Regions from separate parts of the Homo sapiens genome. Here all the other regions are linked to region 2. The links are contacts of gene promoters, found by promoter capture Hi-C in human tissues and cell types (Jung and others, 2019). All regions are on one chromosome and are shown on one strand. The core of a region is centred on a gene start or on the middle of the fragment in contact, and the rest is flanking DNA. Distances in the headings are between cores, read along the strand shown. Region 1 overlaps RAD50 (RAD50 double strand break repair protein). Region 2 holds the start of KIF3A (kinesin family member 3A). Region 3 overlaps RAD50 (RAD50 double strand break repair protein).

Region 1 (3,622 bases), core at 254-2,753, 150 kb before region 2:
CCCGGCTAAATAAAAAAAAAAAATAGAATTTTTTGTATTTTTAGTAGAGACGGGGTTTCTCCATGTTGGTCAGGCTGGTCGCGAACTCCCGACCTCAAGTGATCTGCCCGCCTCGGCCTCCCAAAGTGCAGGGATTACAGGCGTGAGCCACCGCACCTGGAAATGTTTGTATTTATTTTGACTTTTCTTTTAAAAGTAATATGTGCCCCTAGTAAAAAAGTTATAAAAGGATATTAGGTGAAAAGTAAAAGATAGTCTTCCATTTCTCATCTCTAACCTTCCAGAGTATATTTTACCTGCAACTTTTTTTAACTGCATATATACAATACATATGTATATACAAACATTCACTTGTATGTATGTGCATATTTACCTTTACAAGCTTAATCAGAACAGGATTATGAGAGGAAGAGTCTGGGTTAAGTAAATCAATATAAAAGGAGTAAATGACCAATATGAATCGGGGTCAGATTATAGAAAGCTAATGGATTTCAGACTTAGTTCAATAGACAGAAGAGTGGAAGACTATGTTATATTTTAGGATGAGTTGTCCTGATAACTCTGTGTGGGTCCCGTGGTAATTACCAAGATATTAGAACAGATTTCCTTTTTTTTTCTTCTTTCCCCCTTGCCCCACTCCACGTTTTATTTTCTTGAGGAGCATCTTGGTTGGAGAGATGACAAGCACATGTAATGGTAAGGCAGAGAAAAAAACAAGACCTGTAGGAGCTCTGAGGATAAAGAAAGAGAATTTCTATCTGAGGTAGCCAGAGAGGATTTCATAGGACTGAATTTGGCCATGACTTTTTTGATCATAAATGAGTAAGTCATTGGAGACATAGAGACAGTAAAATCCAAGCTGTCTTTGAACACTGTCAAGGAAATCCATATTGTTGAAATGAAGCATTTATATTGGAAATGATGTCAAGGTAGGGCTAAATGATAATACCTAGGATTTAGTGAGTGGTGCCAAGATTCTAACCAAGGCTGTAGCAGAGGTTGAGGTATTTATTTACTTGTTTGTGTTTAATTGTGAGTAATTCTCCAAGGGTTTAATATTCTTCTCTGTATCCTCAGAGCCTAGCCTAGTGCCTGGCACATAGCAGGTGGTTCAATAAATGTTTATTAAGTAGATGACTTCCAAAGTCCTTTTTTTTAGCTCTGACATGTGAAGATTCTTCCCTTCATAGAACCCAATTAAAGTTTGGGTCAAATCACCTTCCCAGAAAAGACTACGTCCTTTCAACCATGCACTAGAATGCATCCTTTCCCATTTTTACTGATTCCCTTTATCTTCGGGAACTCTCACTCTCTCATAAACTACTTTATTACCATCCCACCATATCCTGTCCTCTTTTTTTGGCCTACTTAGATCTGTTTTCCTTTCTTGCCTTAAATGGGAATTGCTAGAGGAATATGTTTCTAACTTTTTTTTTCTGCACACAAGTTCATGGTCCTTCTATACTTGATAGCCCAGCTGCTCTATTTTTTTTATCTCATTTCACACTGGCACCTAAGCTTTAAACCCTTGGCTGTTTTTGTTATTGTTGTCTGCCTGCTTGTCCTAGCTCCTTTTACTAGGTGTGTACTCTGGGGATAGAACCTATGTTTTGTGCTCTGAGATTAGAACCAAAACACAGATGTCAAAGAAGGAATTCAGGGGATCTGGTGACTGGCTGGATTTAAGGAATGAAGCAGGTAGAGATGTCATGAAAGATCCAAGCCCAGATGATTATCATAATGTTTGTGCTACCAAGAGGCAGTGAAAACACTGATGGAAAGAAACTGAGCACTTTGTAGAGTATCATAGTAGAGCTGTTAGTATTCATTGCTCTTAAGTATCCATCCAGTTATATTTGTTAGACTCTACTCAAAAGGTATTTTCTGAGTACAGAATTTTTTTCACAAGTGGTGCAAATGGTCTCATTAATTGAATGTTTACTGCCTAACACTAACCCGAGTGCTTTAAAATGTATAATGTAAACTCCATAGTAACTGTGAGGTTGTATAGGCAGGAAAACTGAGGTACAGGTATTCACAGTGGAAATAAGGGTTAAAGGTAGGATTTGAGTCCTCTGATTCCTAAGTTTATACCTTTTTTTCTTTTTAAGTCAAGTTTATTAAGGTATAATATATATATGGTAAAATCCACCCTTTTTAGAGTATAAATTCTATGAGTTAGGACATATGCATACAGTAGCATAACCATCACTAAAATGAAGATGTAGAATATTTCAGTCACTCCAAAAAGTTCTCTCAAAGTCCTTGCAGTCAGTCCTCTCCCCTGCTCCCATCCATAGTAACCACTAATTTGTTTTCTGTCATTATAGTTTTGCCTTTTCCAGAGAGTGGCACATATATAGAATCATACAGTATGCAGACTTTTGTGTCTGGGATTTATCTATGTTGCTGCATGTGTGAGTAATTCATTCCTTTTTTTTTTTTTTTTTTTTGAGACGGAGTTTCACTCTTATTGCCCAGGCTGGAGTGCAATGGCATGATCTCGGCTCACTGCAACCTCCGTCTCCCAGGTTCAAGCAATTCTCCTACCTCAGCCTCCCAAGTAGCTGGGATTACAGGCATGTGCCACCATACCCAGCTAATTTTTTTTGTATTTTTAGTAGAGACGGGGTTTCTCCATGTTGGTCAGGCTGGTCTCGAACTCCCAACCTCAGATGATCTGCCCACCTCGGCCTCCCAAAGTGCTGGGATTACAGGTGTGAGCCACTGTGCCCGGCAATTCATTCCTTTTTATTGTGGAGGAGCATTCCTTCCATTGTATGCATGTATTATAATTTTTTTCCTCATCCATTCTGTGGCTGATGGACATTAAGTTGTTTTTGGTTGAACTAGTTTACAGTCCCTCCAACAGTGTAAAAGTGTTCCTCTTTCTCCACATCCTCTCCAGCACCTGTTGTTTCCTGATTTTTATTGATCGCCATTCTAACTGGTGTGAGATGATATCTCATTGTGGTTTTGATTTGCATTTCTCTGATGGCCAGTGATGATGAGCATTTTTTCATGTGTCTGTTGTCTGCATAAATCTCTTCTTTTGAGAAGTGTCTGTTCATATCCTTCACCCACTTTTTGATGGGGTTGTTTGTTTTTTTCTTGTAAATTTGTTTGAGTTCTTTGTAGATTCTGGATATTAGCCCTTTGTCAGATGAGTTGATTGCAAAAATGTTCTCCCATTCTGTAGGTTGCTTGTTCACTCTGATGGTAGTTTCTTTTGCTGTGCAGAAGCTCTTTAGTTTAATTAGAACCCATTTGTCAGTGTGGCGATTCCTCAAGGATCTAGAAATAGAAATACCATTTGACCCAGCCATCCCATTACTGGGTATATACCCAAAGGATTATAAATCATGCTGCTATAAAGACACATGCACATGTATGTTTATTGCAGCACTACTCACAATAGCAAAGACTTAGAACCAACCCAAATGTCCAATGATGATAGACTGGATTAAGAAAATATGGCACATATACACCATGGAATACTATGCAGCCATAAAAAATGATGAGTTCATGTCCTTTGTAGGGACATGGATGAAGCTGGAAACCATCATTCTCAGCAAACTACCGCAAGAACAAAAAACCAAACACCGCATGTTCTCACTCATAG
Region 2 (3,643 bases), core at 459-2,958:
CCACCCACGTCTGCTTCACTGGGCTTATTTCACAAGATATTCTGCCTGGCTCATCCATGCCACAGCCACACTGAGCTGCTTGGCCTTTTCTTGTCACCATGCTCCTCACCACTGGCCTTTCCATGTGCTGTTCCTTCTACCTAGAACCATCTTCAATCCCCTCTTCACTTAGTTAACATCTACTTATCCTTCAGAACTCAACAGCCACTTCACCTGGGAAGACTTCCTGACTAGGTCAAATACTCTTATAGGCTCAGAGAGCACCCTGCTCTCCCCTTCCTGGACACAAATTTTACTTTTGCTTGTTCCTTATTTGATTAATGTCTTTCTGTCTACACCAGAGGTTGCAAACAGGTAGTCAAGAGGCTGAATTCAGCCCACAAATTTCTTTTGTTTGGTTCATAGTATTTAAAGAGCTTTTGAATTAGTTGCTAAAATTGAGAAATTTCACAAAAATAATTTCTAAAGTCTCTTCTTGGGAGGAAAAAAAATGACCTGTTATCATCTGCAGACCATCATTCTTACATGGCAATACATTCCAATTCACCAGAATCTACTTCTCTCTATTGTAGGATACCCACCCACTTCATTATTAAGGTTTTGTGTCTTACGTCTGTAAATATGTATGATTTTCACCTCTGCCCAAGAAGGCAAGCCTCTCTCTTTCCAAGTTCAAGAACCTGACTGGTGTTGCTCAATGTTGTATCTTCAGGGCCTAGCATGTGGTTGGTGCCCAATATTTACTGAATTAAAACTTGAAAGCAGTGAACAGAACAAATATAGAGCATTTAATCTTAAATGTCAAGCACTGTCCTTCTAGTCTCCTGTGTATTATTTCACGCGGATAACAACCCCATGAGGTAAAGTTTACATGGGAACTAAGGACCCAGACAGATTAAATAATTATCCGAGGCCTCACAACCACTAAATAAGCGGCCATGGCTCAATTTTCCTCCATGACCCCTAATAAGGGGTCTTAGAAGGCCCCATTATTAAGTTCACGATAACAATCTGTGAAATCCTGGAAGATAAACATAACACCGCCACACACACAAAGACACCTACGGGTTTCATTCTGCATCATAAGCTAAAGCGCCACAAGAGCAATGACAGCTCAAGGCTAGGAGACTCGGAGTATGGGGCCTGGAATAGGGGCAGGCAGCCTTCGCTCCGCTGCCTCCCTGCGCTTGCTCCGAGGCGCAAAGGCCTCACCAGGTGTGCAGCATCCAAAGAGCCCCACCGTGGCCACCCCCAGACGCCCCGCTCAGCAGGAAGGGCTGCGAGCCAGAGCGCATCCTCCAGCACAGCGCCTTTTTGATAAGCGGCGCAGGCCCCACGGGATGCAGCAGCGACGAGGGCGGCAGGGCCTGACCCCAGGTCCCTGTCGAGGCCGGCCGGACCCCCGCGGCCCCGGGGCTGACCAGCCAGGCTCTCCAACCACCTCCACCGCACGACCGAGCCTGCCCCGCCCCACCCAGGCCGCCTGCCGGCTCCGCGCCTCCATGGCAACGGCCGCGCCCCCGGGCCAGGCCGCTAGGATGAGAAGAAACCCCAGAAGCGAAGCGACTCTCCTCACCGGCATCTTGGCCCCCTCCCGTGCCCGGCGGACGTCCCCGCCCGGGGTGCAGCCCAGCGACACCGGGTGCGCAGAAAGGATGGCCAGAGACTACCGAAACACCTCGTTGACGCTCTCGAGACTGCGGCTTCTCGGGCGAGAGCGCCCAGTGCGCAGCCGCATTCCGAGCTCGCCCCGCCCCAAGCCCAGTCTCAGGCTCTCTCGGCCCTTGAATTACGCCTGCGCGGAGGCTTTCCGAGTCCATCTCCTAGGACGCCAGACTGAGGCCGCGCGTGCGCAATGCTGCCATTCTGCTGCGCTAGAAATGTGGCACGCACTGAGGCGGAGGTAACCTGGCAGCCCGGGGTTGGGAGGAGGAGCTGCTCTTAGGCCCGTCTTCTGGCCCTTGCAATACCCGGAATATTAAAATCAGTAATAGCAATTGTACATTTTGTCTCATCCGAAGAATTGAAGACCTTACCTACCTGACCTCGCTTGATTGCTAACTTCCTCATGACCTGTCTTACCATTAGAAAGTGAGCTCTCTTAAGGAGATTGTTAGTATTCTCACATCTATCTCCAGAGCCCACACAGAGCCTGGCACAGAGTGGGATTTTTATACGTGTTGGTCAAAGAACCAGTGATCCGTCCATCCTCTTTCTAGTCCACTTGAATGTGTAATGGGCATTTCAAGTTAATCATGTCCAGAATTGAAATCTTGATCCCCCATCAATCGCCCCACTACCCACTCCACCCCCATCAAAAAATTTAAAAGGGCTCTCTCTCATCCCTCTCAGACTTTCTTCATCTCAATATGTGGGAGCTTAATTCCGACAACTGCTCAGGTCAAAATTGCAGTCTCTTTCATACACAATATTCTATCTTTAAATACAGCCTGTTGTATCTATCTTTGTAGTGGAACCAGAATTTGGCCACTTCTACCACCACCATCGTCTCTCACGTGCATTACTACAATCGCTCAGAACTGGTTTCCTTGATTGTGTGTCCTTGTCCCTTTTCAGTGTGCTGGACAGGAGCCAGAGTGCTGGTGCTAAAACATGAATCAGATCTTCTCTTTTCTCTGCTCAAAACCCTCCATTGATTTCCCATCTTACAAAGCTAAAGCCACAAGCCCTACAATCCTCCCTCTTGCTTCTTCTGCACCAGCCCCACCTGGCCTCCTTGCTTCATCCAACATTCCCGTCGTGCTTCCATCTTAGCATGCAAGGGCTGTGAGCTTGCAGTAGGAACTGATAGAAATAAAGATAAAGCATTTTACATAGTGCCAGTGTACTGTTCTACATGCTTTCGTTTTTTAATTCATTTAATCCACACAATAACCTTTTGAAATAGATACTATTTATTATTATTTTACAGATAAAGTAATTGAGGCACAGGACCATTAAATAACTTTTCCAAGGTCATACATATAAACAATGGCAGAGCCCAGGTCCAAACCCAGGCAGCCTAGACAGCTCTTTCCCTAAAAAACCACCTGACCACTCACCTCCTCCAGAAAGTCTTTGTTCACATAACCCCAGTGAACCCTAACATGATTTCCTTATTTAAAATTTCAACCTTCAGCCCAAACTCTTCTTTTTTTCCCTCCCCACTTTATATTTCTCCATAGTACCTATCACCATTCAATATTTTATATATACACACATACAAGCTTTACTGAGATATAATTTACACACCATACCATACAATCACCGATTTAAATTGTACAAGTCAATAGTTCTTACTATATATGGAGTTGTGCAACCATAACCTAGAACATTTTTATCATTCCAAAAAGACATTCTGTACTCATAAGCCACTCCCCCTTGCTCTCTGCAACCCTCCTCCCACCCCACTCCCAACATCCCAGACCTAGACAACCCACCAATCTACTTTCTATCTCTGTGGATTTGCCTATTCTGGACATTTCATATAAATGAAATTACACAATATGCAGCCTTTTGTGAGTAACTTCTTTCACTTACAAAGTTTTCAAGCTGTATCCCTATTATAGCATATATCAGCAATTTGTTACTTTTTATGGCTGAATAATATTCCATTGCATGGCTATAACATGTTTTTTTACCT
Region 3 (3,986 bases), core at 637-3,136, 130 kb before region 2:
AATAATTAAAAAATTTTAAAAAACTATAGGTCTGTTGCCACAGGTCAGGTTGGCATTTCTTGGTCATAGTTTGCATTTTTAAAAAATCATTAAGTAATAGCCACTTGAGTTTCTGGTTATTCTTTAAGTTTATAATAAGACTCCTATTAGAGACCAGTTTAATTTATTCTACTGCTTTGTCATACTAATTCAATATAATTTTAAATAAGAATTTGGAATATTTCTGAAGTAAATTTTTTTTAAAAGATTAAATACATATTATTGTTTCAGAGGCATCAGCAAAAATAGTTGTCAGTACCTGCCATGGAGGTGGTAATTCATTAGCTACAGTAGTGAGTACCAGTAAAATGGGTTGACATTTTGTACCTTAAACCCATGTAGCATTTCACTTAGTGGCTGGCTTCCTTCCTTTTTTTCCTGTAATTTAAAAAATTTTTATTTTGAAATAATGTTAGGATTACAGAAAAATTATAAAAATAATACAAATTATTCATATATATCCCTCATCCAGCTCCTCCTGATGTTAACAATTTATGTACTCTGTTATAATACAGTTATCAAAACCAGGATTAACATTGATATAATGCTACTAACTAAATTACAGACCATATCGAATTTAGCAGTTTTTCCATCAATGCCTTTTCTGTTTCAGGGTTCCATGCAGGATCCCACGTAGCATCTAGTTGTTATTTCTCCTTAGGCTCCTGCAGTCTGTAACAATCTGTCTTTATCTTTCATGACCTTAACACTTTTGGTCAATATGACCAGTTCATTAGTAGAATATTTCTCAGTTTGACAAACACCACAGTAATAATTATTGCAAGCAAGATCTGTCAGTGGATACTAAAATCAGTAGGCAGAAAGTTGAGAAGCAAGATATTTACATAGTCTCAACATTTCTCTCCTAAGATACTTGTTAATTACAAAGACTAAAACAGTAACTTTACAGTGGAGAAACCTGGCCAACACCATCTAAGCCAAGTGAATAAGGATTAACATCATCAGTAATAAGACATATTGATATCATGATTCCATATCCACTGATATGATACCCTGAAAAGAACACAATGTCACTTCTGTGGTATTCTTCCTAAAAATACATAACCTCAGTCTAACTGTGAGAAACATCAGATACTTTATTTTTAATTGTGTTTTCTATTTAGGCAAAGCATAATTGATTTGAAGGAGAAGGAAATACCAGAATTAAGAAACAAACTGCAGAATGTCAATAGAGACATACAGCGCCTAAAGAACGACATAGAAGAACAAGAAACACTCTTGGGTACAATAATGCCTGAAGAAGAAAGTGCCAAAGTATGCCTGACAGATGTTACAATTATGGAGAGGTTCCAGGTAAGTTTATTGTAGTTTAAGGCAGAATAAAACTTGTTCCATGGTGGCTTGAATTTGAAGTGTGAGAGTTAAAAATAGTAGCTAGTATTCAGGTACAGGTTGTGTTTAGAATTCCCCATCCTGAATTTCAGATACCCTCAGGGAGAAACTGCTTAGTTTACATCCCTGGGTTTAAACTTTTTAATTCATAAATTTAAAAATTAAGACAGTTCTGTTTGTTTTTCATCTTTAGTCAGCTTCCTTTTGTTTACATCATTTGAATTGCTGATAATTAATTTCACTTTTATCCTATTAAACTTTGCTAAAATTGTATCTAGAAATGGTTTATAAGTTTAGATTTAAAAAATAAATGATAAGAGCAATTAATTTTTAAAGATTTTGAATAATGCAGTAAGTTTATTAAAGGAAATCATTTTGTTATATTCTTAAGATGGAACTTAAAGATGTTGAAAGAAAAATTGCACAACAAGCAGCTAAGCTACAAGGAATAGACTTAGATCGAACTGTCCAACAAGTCAACCAGGAGAAACAAGAGAAACAGCACAAGTTAGACACAGGTAATACAGTCTGTGTCCTTCTGTACTCATAGAGACTTTGACATTGCGAGCACATGCCTTTTACAGTCAATTTTATATCTGTTACATGGACAACGAAGTTCCTTCCTGTCCACATATATTTGCTCTTTTTTTCTGAAAAGCATCACTTCTCTTTGTTCTCTTACTTTGCACAACAGATTTTGAACAGTAGGAGAGTATGAAATAAGCTGTATTCTCTTTTCCTTTTTTTTTTTTTTAAGATAGAGTTTCACTTTTGTCGCCCAGGCTGGAGTGCAATGGTGCAATCTTGGCTCACTGCAACCTCCGCCTCCCGGGTTCAAGTGATTCTCCTGCCTCACCCTCCTGAGTAGCTGGGGTTACAGGCACACATCACTATGCCCAGCTAATTTTTGTATTTTTTCGTAGAGATGGGGTTTCACTGTGTTTGTCAGGCTGATCTCGAACTCCTGACCTCAGGTGATCCACCTGCCTCAGTCTCCCAAAGTGCTGGGATTACAAGTGTGAGCCAGTGCGCCTGGCCATGAGCTGTATTCTTTCTCATTCATACCTGCCCTGTAAGCTTTCCCTGTGAGTGGCCAGCAGGGAACATCAAGCTGATTTGAGAACTAGCAGGGTTCTCATTGTATTTTTGTTGCAGTGGGTGGGGCCCACAGAAATAGCATTTGTGGATTCCATAGACCGATAAAAATGGGAAGAATGATACAAATAGTATTTTCTATGCCCTTACATTAATTACTGTGATAATATGTTTTTGTGTAGTTTCTAGTAAGATTGAATTGAATCGTAAGCTTATACAGGACCAGCAGGAACAGATTCAACATCTAAAAAGTACAACAAATGAGCTAAAATCTGAGAAACTTCAGATATCCACTAATTTGCAACGTCGTCAGCAACTGGAGGAGCAGACTGTGGAATTATCCACTGAAGTTCAGTCTTTGTACAGAGAGATAAAGGTAAGAATATCCATACATGTTTTTTGTAAAATTATTTTAATTATTTATTTTTATTTTTATTTTTTGAGACAGTCTCGTTCTGTCACCCAGGCTGGAGTGCAGTAGCACGATCTCGGCTCACTGCAACCTCCATCTCCTGGGTTCAAGTGATTCTCTTGCCTCAGCCTCTGGAGTAGCTGGGATTACAGGCGTGCACCACCATGCCTGGCTAATTTTTGTTCTTTTAGTAGAGACGGGTTTTCGCCATTGGACAAGCTGGTTTCAAACTCCTGAACTAAGGTGATCCGCCTACCTTGGCCTCCCAAAGTGCTGGGATTACAGGCGTGAGCCAGCATGCCCCGCCCCATTCTTCTCTTTTAGAGACAGAGTCTTCATCAGTCTTCCAAGCTGGAATGCAGTGGTACAGTCACAGCTCACTCACTGCAGCCTCGACCTCCTGAGCTCAAGCAATCCTCCTGCCTCAGCCTCTCAAGTAGATGGGACTACAGGCACACACCACCACGCCTGGCTAATTTTTAAAATTTTTCTAGAGACAGGGTCTCACTATGTTGTTCAGGCTGGTCTCAAACTCATGGCCTCAAGCAATGCAGCCTTGGCCTCCCAAAATTACAGGCTTACATCACCTCACCCAGCCCATGTTTCTTTAATATGAAATGCTCTTTATTAGTGTAATGGCCAGAACTCTCAGCACCTCATCGCACTTATTCTAAAATTGACCACATAATTGGAAGTAAAACACTCTCAGCAAATGCAAAAGAACAGAAATCATAACAAACAGTCTCTCAGACCACAGTGCAATCAAATTAGAACTCAGGATTAAGAAACTCACTCAAAACCGCACAACTACAAGGAAACTGAACAACCTGCTCCCGAATGACTACCGGTTAAATAACGAAATGAAGGCAGAAATAAAGATGTTCTTTGAAACCAGTGAGAACAAAGATACAATGTACCAGAATCTCTGAGACACATTTAAAGCACTGTGTAGAGGGAAATTTATAGCACTAAATGCCCACAAGAGAAAGCAGGAAATAACTGAATTCAACACCTTAACATCAAAATTAAAAGAACTAGAGAAACAAGAGCAAACAAATTCAAAAGCCAGCAGAAGACAAGAAATAAC

What was found. The method cuts DNA at HindIII sites, captures the fragments that hold promoters and counts their contacts. A contact is called where the count stands out against the background at its distance.
Region 1: a contact is called between a fragment that was not itself captured here and the fragment with the promoter of KIF3A in region 2, in 1 of the 25 tissues and cell types used here (lymphoblastoid cells).
Region 3: a contact is called between a fragment that was not itself captured here and the fragment with the promoter of KIF3A in region 2, in 1 of the 25 tissues and cell types used here (mesenchymal stem cells).

Annotation. Positions count from the first base shown.
Region 1 is chr5:132,581,258-132,584,879 of GRCh38, forward strand. All of the region lies in intron 5 of RAD50 (RAD50 double strand break repair protein), which reads left to right. Among named protein-coding and RNA genes, the nearest start is that of RAD50, 26 kb to the left of the region's middle. The HindIII fragment of the contact is 3,914 bases long and covers 1-3,460 here.
Region 2 is chr5:132,735,838-132,739,480 of GRCh38, forward strand. It overlaps KIF3A (kinesin family member 3A), which reads right to left and starts at 1,709. Exons shown (of 19, transcript NM_001300791.2): 1 at 1,577-1,709. The coding sequence starts at 1,582. RefSeq lists an enhancer at 1,014-1,113 and a silencer at 1,264-1,573. The HindIII fragment of the contact is 7,994 bases long and covers 181-3,643 here.
Region 3 is chr5:132,602,137-132,606,122 of GRCh38, forward strand. RAD50 (RAD50 double strand break repair protein) reads left to right here. Exons shown (of 25, transcript NM_005732.4): 14 at 1,164-1,353; 15 at 1,784-1,910; 16 at 2,670-2,863. Among named protein-coding and RNA genes, the nearest start is that of RAD50, 47 kb to the left of the region's middle. The HindIII fragment of the contact is 3,550 bases long and covers 112-3,661 here.